Linked DNA regions of Homo sapiens: region 1 is linked to region 2. Evidence: promoter capture Hi-C in 16 types of primary human blood cells and fetal thymus (Javierre and others, 2016). All regions are on one chromosome and are shown on one strand. Each heading gives the region's core, a stretch centred on a gene start or on the middle of the fragment in contact. The rest is flanking DNA. Distances are from core to core; before and after follow the strand shown. Region 1 holds the start of LOC105377113 (a long non-coding RNA gene). Region 2 holds the start of CFAP20DC-AS1 (CFAP20DC antisense RNA 1).

What was found. Contacts are between HindIII fragments. The CHiCAGO score rates a contact against its expected background, and 5 or more counts as called.
Region 1: a contact is called between a fragment that was not itself captured here and the fragment with the promoter of CFAP20DC-AS1 in region 2, in 1 of 17 cell types (endothelial precursors). The highest score is 5.0, in endothelial precursors.

What each region holds. Positions count from the first base shown.
Region 1 is chr3:59,849,998-59,854,168 of GRCh38, forward strand. All of the region lies in intron 8 of FHIT (fragile histidine triad diadenosine triphosphatase), which reads right to left. LOC105377113 (a long non-coding RNA gene) reads left to right here and starts at 1,037. Exons shown (of 3, transcript XR_007095936.1): 1 at 1,037-1,125. The HindIII fragment of the contact is 1,723 bases long and covers 1,832-3,554 here.
Region 2 is chr3:58,821,534-58,826,179 of GRCh38, forward strand. It overlaps CFAP20DC-AS1 (CFAP20DC antisense RNA 1), which reads left to right and starts at 2,938. Exons shown (of 3, transcript NR_110820.1): 1 at 2,938-3,042. All of the region lies in intron 14 of CFAP20DC (CFAP20 domain containing), which reads right to left. The HindIII fragment of the contact is 7,858 bases long and covers 1-4,646 here.

The DNA of each region.
Region 1 (4,171 bases), core at 1,443-3,942, 1.0 Mb after region 2:
TTCCATACAATTTTAATTAGGTATATTTTTTCCAATGTGTTTTGAAATGATCTGCTAGGACCAAATGCTAACATGAAATTCCCTGCATGCTGGTAGTTAATTTAATAAAAATTAGAAAGGTGAAGCCCTGTTCCCTAGAGGGAGAAGGTCTTAACACAAAACATTCATTATTTCCACATAAATTGCAAAAAGTAAAGATGCTGGATTTAAAATCTAAGCAGGAAGAAACTGTCAACTTTCATTATCAGTGGACAAATGTTTTAATTTGCAATATTCCCTAGCAACTTTTTGAACAGACAACTTTACCTCTTTACCAACATCTACTTTAATTCCTAATTTGCAGCTGCATAAGTACTATGTTGGGCCCAAAGCTTTGGGTATATCTCTTAGAGGTAATGGAATCCTTGTTGTTTTCTGGCACTGCCTCATTAAAATGAAACTCAGACTCAGGGTAACCCTGAAAAACCTAAGCCCTCCAATAAAAAATGTGGTATATCCCTGCACTTAAATTACGCAGGAGAAGTGAAGGCTGGTACATCACACACAGAAGAGAAGCTAAAGGTCAAGCTATTAGAGTTAATGAGCCGATACAAGCTCAGGCTCTCTAACCAGAGAGGTTAGGGACAGAATACATGGCCACCCCAAGGAACTTTATTTAAGATATCAATTAAAAATGAGTCACCTCTCTTCTCAGCTCCTGCACTCAACACTGACACTGGGAACAATGACTGAAGGACTCACACATGTCTGAGAAAAGGCACCTTGTGGGTGTGACTTGCCACAAAAGCAAGAGTCTTTCTGCATTTGTAAATGTGTTGGTAAGGCAACAAAAAGAATACTACTGTGCAAGGGGAGGTAGAGGTGGTGATCCTGGCAACCTAAAAGCCTGATTGTATGTTCTAATCCATTCTGATGTCACCAAAGCTCCCCTTCGAGGGAATAACCTGGATTATGGCCAATACTTTCTACTTCTAATAGTCTTCCAGTTTCATTGTTCACAAGGGGTTGGTAAACAAAAATCAATGAAAAGAGCAGGGTCTTCTCTATTTTGGATTTGGACACTGATGATGAAGCTGTGATATTCTGATCCAGGACTCAATGGCTCCTCCTGGATCTTCTAACAAGGTCAATCTGGCTGAGTTCCAGACAGTCAGCTGATGGTCTCATATGAGGAATCTAAAGTTGATGAAGATGGTGGTAGTAGAGTGGTGTAATCCTCATAGCTCAAAAACGATCAGAGCTCATTAATTATTAACTAACTAGAACTTTTATGGCTCATTAGCTACTGGTTAAATGTCAGGTAAAATGTAATATTTAATAGAAAATGTTAAGATTAGAAATATGCAGAGCATTTCTTATGTGCCAGACCTATGCTAAGTATTTCATATCCATTATTGTACTTGATCCTTACAACTCCCATGCAAGGGACCTATGTTTATCTCAATTTAACAGAGAAGAAGGCAAAGTGTGAAAAACTAAGTAACTTGTCTTAAGTTAAACAGCTAATGGAGTGGTAGACTTGAGCTTCAAACCCAGGTTTAGCCAACTCCAAGCCCATTCAATTATCACTTGATACACACCCAACCTATGTAATACTTAGCTTTGTTCTTAGTCATTGTTGCAAAGCTCATTTCACCCCTCAGTCAGGCTTATTACATTCATTCGTGTTCTCAAGAGACAAGAGGGTCTTGCCCAAAACTACAGAATATCACTATCACAAGTTGCCATTCCCACTAGAATTTACCTTGATCCCCAGTGATGCTACATGCATTATTATGTTAGTTTCTTCTTGGAGGTGTTATTTTTAAACTGCAAGATTAAAGCTCCTACAAGCTTCTGACAACATGAAAATCAGACACGACTTTGCAGTCTTTTTAAAACAAACTAGTAAGAAGGTCCCAATTAAGAGAAAAAGAGTAGTCACACATACCTGTAGAACTGATTGTAATTTACCCTTTCATCTTGCTCTAAAACACATTCCTTGAGTCTCAGTTTAGTAGAGATAAGATTCACCCAGTCGGGGGATATTAGTTCTTCCTGGATATTTTAATTAAACTGTTACATTGAGTAGTTCTGAAAATCACATATAATCATTCAAGGTATGGTGGAGTTCTGTTCTCCAGCATATGGCTCTCCACCCAGCCACATTCCATCTCCTTAGGTAAACTAGCTGGAGGCCTTCAGTGTAAGCTCTTTAATTTTTAAACTCTTGGGTGGTGCTTTGTTCTTCGGGTAGAGAGTAGAGCAAGAGAACGAATTACCAAACAGTAATATTACCCCCATCGACAAGCGGGTGGTGTTTATATCACACATACTATATACCAAGAAATGCGCCACACCTTTTACATGAATACTCATTTTAAAACAGTAAAGACTTTATATTTAGAGAAGTTTTAGGTTTACAGCAAAACTGATAGTAAGGTACGGAGATAGCCCACATATCCCCTGCCCCACATATGTTGCCTCCCATATTAACTTCCCCCCACCAGACTGGTACATTTGTTACAATTTGTGAACCTACAAGGACATATCACCCAAAGTCCATAGTTTACAAGAGGATTCAGTCTTGGTGTTGTACATTCTATGGGTTTGGGTAAATGTATAATGGCATGTATCCACCATTACAGTATCATATAGAGTAGTTTCATTGTCCTAAAAGATCCTCTGTGATCCGCCTATTCATCCCTCCCTCCCTCCTAATCCTTGGCAACCACTGATCTTTTTATTATCTCCATAATTTTGCCTTTTCCAGAATTCCATATAGTCAGAATCATGGAGCATGCAGCCTCTTTAGGTAGGCTTCTTTCACTTAGTAATATACATTTAAGTTTCCGCCATGTCTCTTCATGGATTGATAGCTAATTTGTTTTTGGCACTGAATCAGAAACCCTTGTTGGGATGTACCACAGTGTATTTATCCATTCACCCACTGAAGAATTTCTTGGTGGCTTCCATGTTTTGGCAATTAAGGATAAGACTGCTATGAACATTCATGTGTAGATTTTTGTGTGGCTATGTTTTCAACTCCTTTGAGTAAATATCAAGGAATACAACTGCTGGATCATGTTGTAAGAGCATGTAGTTTTGTAAGAAATCGCCAAACTGTATTCCAAAGAGGCTGTAATATGTTGCATTCCCAACAGAAATGAATGAGAGTTCCTGTTGCTTCACATCCTCTCTAGCATTTGGCATTGTCAGTGTTCTGATTTGGGCTCTTCTAATAAGTGTGTGGTGGTATCTCACTGTTTGAACACTCATTTTTGAAATATCCACATAGGCTATTATGATCTTCATTTTACAGTTCAAGAAGCTGAAACTCAAAGAATGTAGATATTTCAAACTGGCCATTGTAAGCTAGAGCCAAGATTCAAACTCAAGTTTGGTGAATTTCATAGCCTATACTTTCTATCATTGAGGTACATCTTGTTTTCTCAGTTGTATTATGTGATTTGCAAGTCCTATGAATAATATATTTAAATTATACCAACATGAAAACTAAGTGTAATCTTCAGTCAATAAAATATCCACTAAATACTTCAAAATATGAAACTGGAAGCTTATCTAAATGAACTAATTCTTTAATATCACCATGAAAGGATGATGTTTTAAATTAAGAAGTGAAGAATTTATAGTTTCCAGATTGAGAATAATTTCCACAAATTTTTATTTTCATCATATTCTATTGTGGGTGTGCATGTGTGTGTGTGACAGACACATATGCAGACACAGAGATATGGGGACACACACATAGACACTTTCCATCTCATGCCATGTTGGAACTTCCCAGAGACAGTTAAAATTAGCTAGCTAATTTCCATAAACTATCAAAATAAAATTATACTTATTGAGAGTCTAGAGTTCCTGTCATGAAGACTTAGCAGTTAAAAAGCATGGAAGTCATGGAATCTCAGTGCTCCTTCGTTGCAATCCACACTCCTGCTACAATTAGAATCCCACCAATAGATAAAGTCATCAGGAGCTAATTAGTCCACGTGTAAAAAATAAAAATAAGACAAAGAACAGACTTCTAAAAAAAACAAAAACAAACAAAAAACAACAACAAATCATTTGAACCATTGGGTACTTCGAGTACATGAAAATTGTGAAGTAAATTAATTAGCTTTGCATTGATTGGTATCAAAAGTCGTTAGCCCTGCACTGCAAGGAAATC
Region 2 (4,646 bases), core at 1,688-4,187:
ACATGAAAAAATGCTCATCATCACTGGCCATCAGAGAAATGCAAATCAAAACCACTATGAGATACCATCTCACACCAGTTAGAATGGCAATCATTAAAAAGTCAGGAAACAACAGGTGCTGGAGAGGATGTGGAGAAATAGGAACACTTTTACACTGTTGCTGGGACTGTAAACTAGTTCAACCACTGTGGAAGTCAGTGTGGCGATTCCTCAGGGATCTAGAACTAGAAATACCATTTGACCCAGCCATCCCATTACTGGGTATATACCCAAAGGACTATAAATCATGCTGCTATAAAGACACATGCACACGTATGTTTATTGCGGCATTATTCACAATAGCAAAGACTTGGAACCAACCCAAATGTCCAACAATGATAGACTGGATTAAGAAAATGTGGCACATATACACCATGGAATACTATGCAGCCATAAAAAATGAAGAGTTCATGTCCTTTGTAGGGACATGGATGAAATTGGAAATCATCATTCTCAGTAAACTATCGCAAGAACAAAAAACCAAACACCGCATATTCTCACTCATAGGTGGGAATTGAACAATGAGATCACATGGACACAGGAAGGGGAATATCATACTCTGGGGACTGTTGTGGGGTGGGGGGAGGGGGGAAGGATAGCATTGGGAGATATACCTAATGCTAGATGAGGAGTTAGTGGGTGCAGCACATCAGCATGGCACATGTATACATATGTAACTAACCTGCACAATGTGCACATGTACCGTAAAACTTAAAGTATAATAAAAAAAAATCATGAAAAAACAAACAAACAAACAAACAAACAAAAAAAACCAAACACCGCATATTCTCACTCATAGGTGGGAACTGAACAATGAGATCACATGGACACAGGAAGGGGAATATCACACTCTGGGGACTGTTGTGGGGTGGTGGGAGGGGGAAGGGATAGCATCAGGAGATATACCTAATGCTAGATGACGTGTTAGTGGGTGTAGTGCACCAGCATGGCACATGTATACATATGTAACTAACCTGCACAATGTGCACATGTACCCTAAAACTTAAAGTATAATAAAAAAAAAAAAGACTATACAGACTGATCCCTTTCCATCTTTGCTCATAGTGATTTTTAAGTGTTAGAAAACAAAAAAGTAACCAATGGAAACTTTTCAAATAAAAACTGCTGACACGAACACATAGAAAGGTGAACAACTAGCTGTCTGAGGCTAGACATCCTCACCTACAAATGGATATTGATGGAGTTCAGGACATGGCATTTACAGTAGCAGGAAGGTCACTCTCACCTTCTCCTGTTCTCCCCTGCAGCTGGTCATAAAACATAGCTAGGATTTTCTGAACACCCCCTGGAGCAGGTCATAAGATACTCATTTGAGAGATGCCGTCCCTATCCCCTGAAGAAAGGAACATCCTTATCTCTGAAGACACAGGGACACAGAGAAGAATCTGAACAAAAGCCTTGCTGATTTTCTTCGTTTATTTCCATTAGCTCATATCTCCTTTGCCCAATCATATTTCTCCACCACTTTCCTCTCTTCATCAAACCTGGAGTAAAAATATTCAAGTTTCACTGTTTGTTCAGTTCTTCATTTCCTTATAAAGACTCCTGTATCATGGAAAACTTACATGAAATAAATTTGTATGTTTTTCTTTTGCTAATCTGTCTTTTGTTGCAACAGAGGCCTTGGCGATGAATCCAGGGTGGGTGAGAAAAAGATATTTTTCCTCCCCTACAATATGCTTATAAACATATGTAGCAGTAAACCTATTTCTAGGTAGGTAGCATCCTGTGAAAGCACCAATGAAATAATATAGAATTTGTTTTGATTTTGGCATTCAGTCATACCTAGAGAATATCGTAAGTAGATGCAAAGGGATGACAACCAGTATCTACAATGAACTACGACCATCATCATAATAGCGGCGATTGACATTTATTGAGTACTTATGCTAATTCTTGGTAGATATGATCTTATTTGATCCTCAGAGCAATTCTATGAAATAAATAGGATGAACAACTACATTCAACAGAAGAGGAAATTGACACTGGGTATTAACCCAGGATCGTGCCTGCCAGGAAAGAGTGGAGCTAGAATGTGAACCCAGGCAGTCTGAGTCCACAGCTTACCCTCTCAACCACTAGTCTGTAGTGTTTATTCCAGCTCGAGAGTGCATCTAGAGTGGTGACTATTTAAGTTTTTGAATAACAAAATGACAAAATCAGTTCTGTTTGTGGCAGGAAAAAAAAGTGACCCTGAAGAAATACATTTATTTGAAATATATATGACTATCTCCTTACCATAAATTAATTTCATTGTTTTCATTCTCATGACATGTCACTATGTATTTACAATTTAAAAAATCAGTTTTGCCACGTTACTAAATTTGGGACAATCATAAAATGTAATAGACAGTACTCTGAGAATAAGAAAAGTTTATTTCCTGGGGTGACTTTCATAGTCACTAAACACAGAACAACTTGCACATTTCAATATTTCCTCCTGACAGTACAGATACTGTCTCTATTGTCACTATTACACTGACTCTAATATCAGTTTTCGTATATCATTTCTATAGTTGTATAAGAACATCTGCTCATATGATTTATCTGCAGCTTAGCACAATCAACTGCATACCTTTTTAGTTCAGGAGGATTAAAAGAAAACTCATTCTACCCAAAGAGAGCTGAGAAGTTAATGAATCTGTAGATCAGAACAAATTAAAACCTATTAATTATAAGGAGTCTGAAATGCCAATATATTATATTTTGAATACACAGCAACCAGGAATATCATGCAAAAACGCTGATATGCTGTGGAGCAAAGAAATGGAACAGATCCCAGAAACTCAGGACCTCGGCCTTTTGGTGGCGCTGTTGCTATGTGCTAGTGCCAGGAAAACAGTATTCATATATAATTAACTACCACGGAGCACAAGCAGCTTTGCTTTTCCATGATCAAGCTGCTAGAGATTTTGGGGTGAGGGAGCGAAATGAAGGCTAAATAAAAGAACCGGAGATAAGATAATCCTGCCATGTTAAAAGGTAAAGATAATATTTTTATGTTGTTATGTAAAACCTATGAAAATGGCGATAATGTTGCAAGGTTAATCAAGACCATAAATAACTTGTCTGAGAACCTCACCATATGCCTGCAGTTTTATTAAGTGTATTTTGCCTCGTTATTCTCCGAATATTATGCTCTGCAACATGCCATGTTGATGGATGCATGCAATGAGCTTTTCTTTTCTTTTTTGTAAGCTAAAGAGACTTATGTGCTTGATATTAGGTATGGGAATTCTTTTTTTTTTTTTTAAGAGATGGGGTCTCATTGTGTTACCCACACTGGCCTTGAATTCCTGGGCTAAAATCCTCCTGCCTTAGCCTCCCAATTAGCTGGGAATACAGACCTGTGCCACCATGCCCCCGTTCAGGTTATGTTAATTATTAACCTGAAGGAATGACAGCTTTGGGGCATCTGCTCACAGGGTAGCTGCACAATAAACCTACTTTTCTTGAATCTACATTTGAGGAGAGACAGTGAAATGAAATATTGAAATAATGAGATAATGAAGGAGTTTATTTGGAAGGATCTGAGGGAGTCAGTCTGTATGCTGATGGTTAAACTCACATCAAAACAAACACTACAGAATCTCTGCTTACTCTTTCAGGTCTCAGTCGTCATAAAAAGGGAAAATGTCCTAGAAATTCTGTTCTGATCACTCAAGTGGCCCTTTGAGGAGAATAACCTTGGGGAAACAGCAGTTGACAGTCAGTGTGAGCTTACTCTGCTAAGCACCAGGCACATGCATTTCATGTACTCATTCGATTTGCATAATGCCAATATTAGGAAGGTTCTTTTATTATTTCCATTTCAAAGATGATCATGTCCATAAATGGCAGAGCTGGAATTTGAGCCCAGGTTGACTGATCTAGAGTTTATATTTGTTTGGGCATCCCATGAAGCAGTGTCCATTGATAGCTGTTCCTGTTCCTTAAAAAAAGAAAACACACACACACACACACAACATGGCTTTATGCTATTGTCAATCAAAATCCCTCACCAAGATAAAATTCACTTAAAATTCATTATAACTAACTCCTAGTGCCCTTCCAAAGGCTGCCGAGAGCCCAGTTTTTGAATAAATCTCACGAGGGCTACTCCTAACAGAAACTCTCCAAAATTGATTGATTGTAGCCTGGTTTCCACAGAAGTTGTAAAGTATTGTTTTAATTGAATTTGGTTCTAAGTTAGAAACTTTGAAAAATTTGTCTGTCAAAGGCCAATGGATTTCTCAGTAGGCTTGATTTATTTAGCAAGAGATGCCTACAAAAGCCAATTTGCTATGAGGAATGTGGTTACATTTAATTACACTTTTAAATGACTAATTTGTTATATCTAAACACCTTTTAAACAGTACATATTACTCTGAACTGTACAGATGCTGAGGAATCAAAGTTTGTGTTAAACACAAAGGATTTTGCTAAAGACTCTTCATTTTACTCTGCGTAGGCTTTCTGGCTTCAGACTGCAATGTGTGTGAAGTCGTCAGGTAAAAATGCTAAACTGAATGGGACCGGACTACATCTTTTTCTTCCTATTTGCAATCAGGCCCTGCTCAGAAGGAGATTTTCCTTTGGGTGTATAT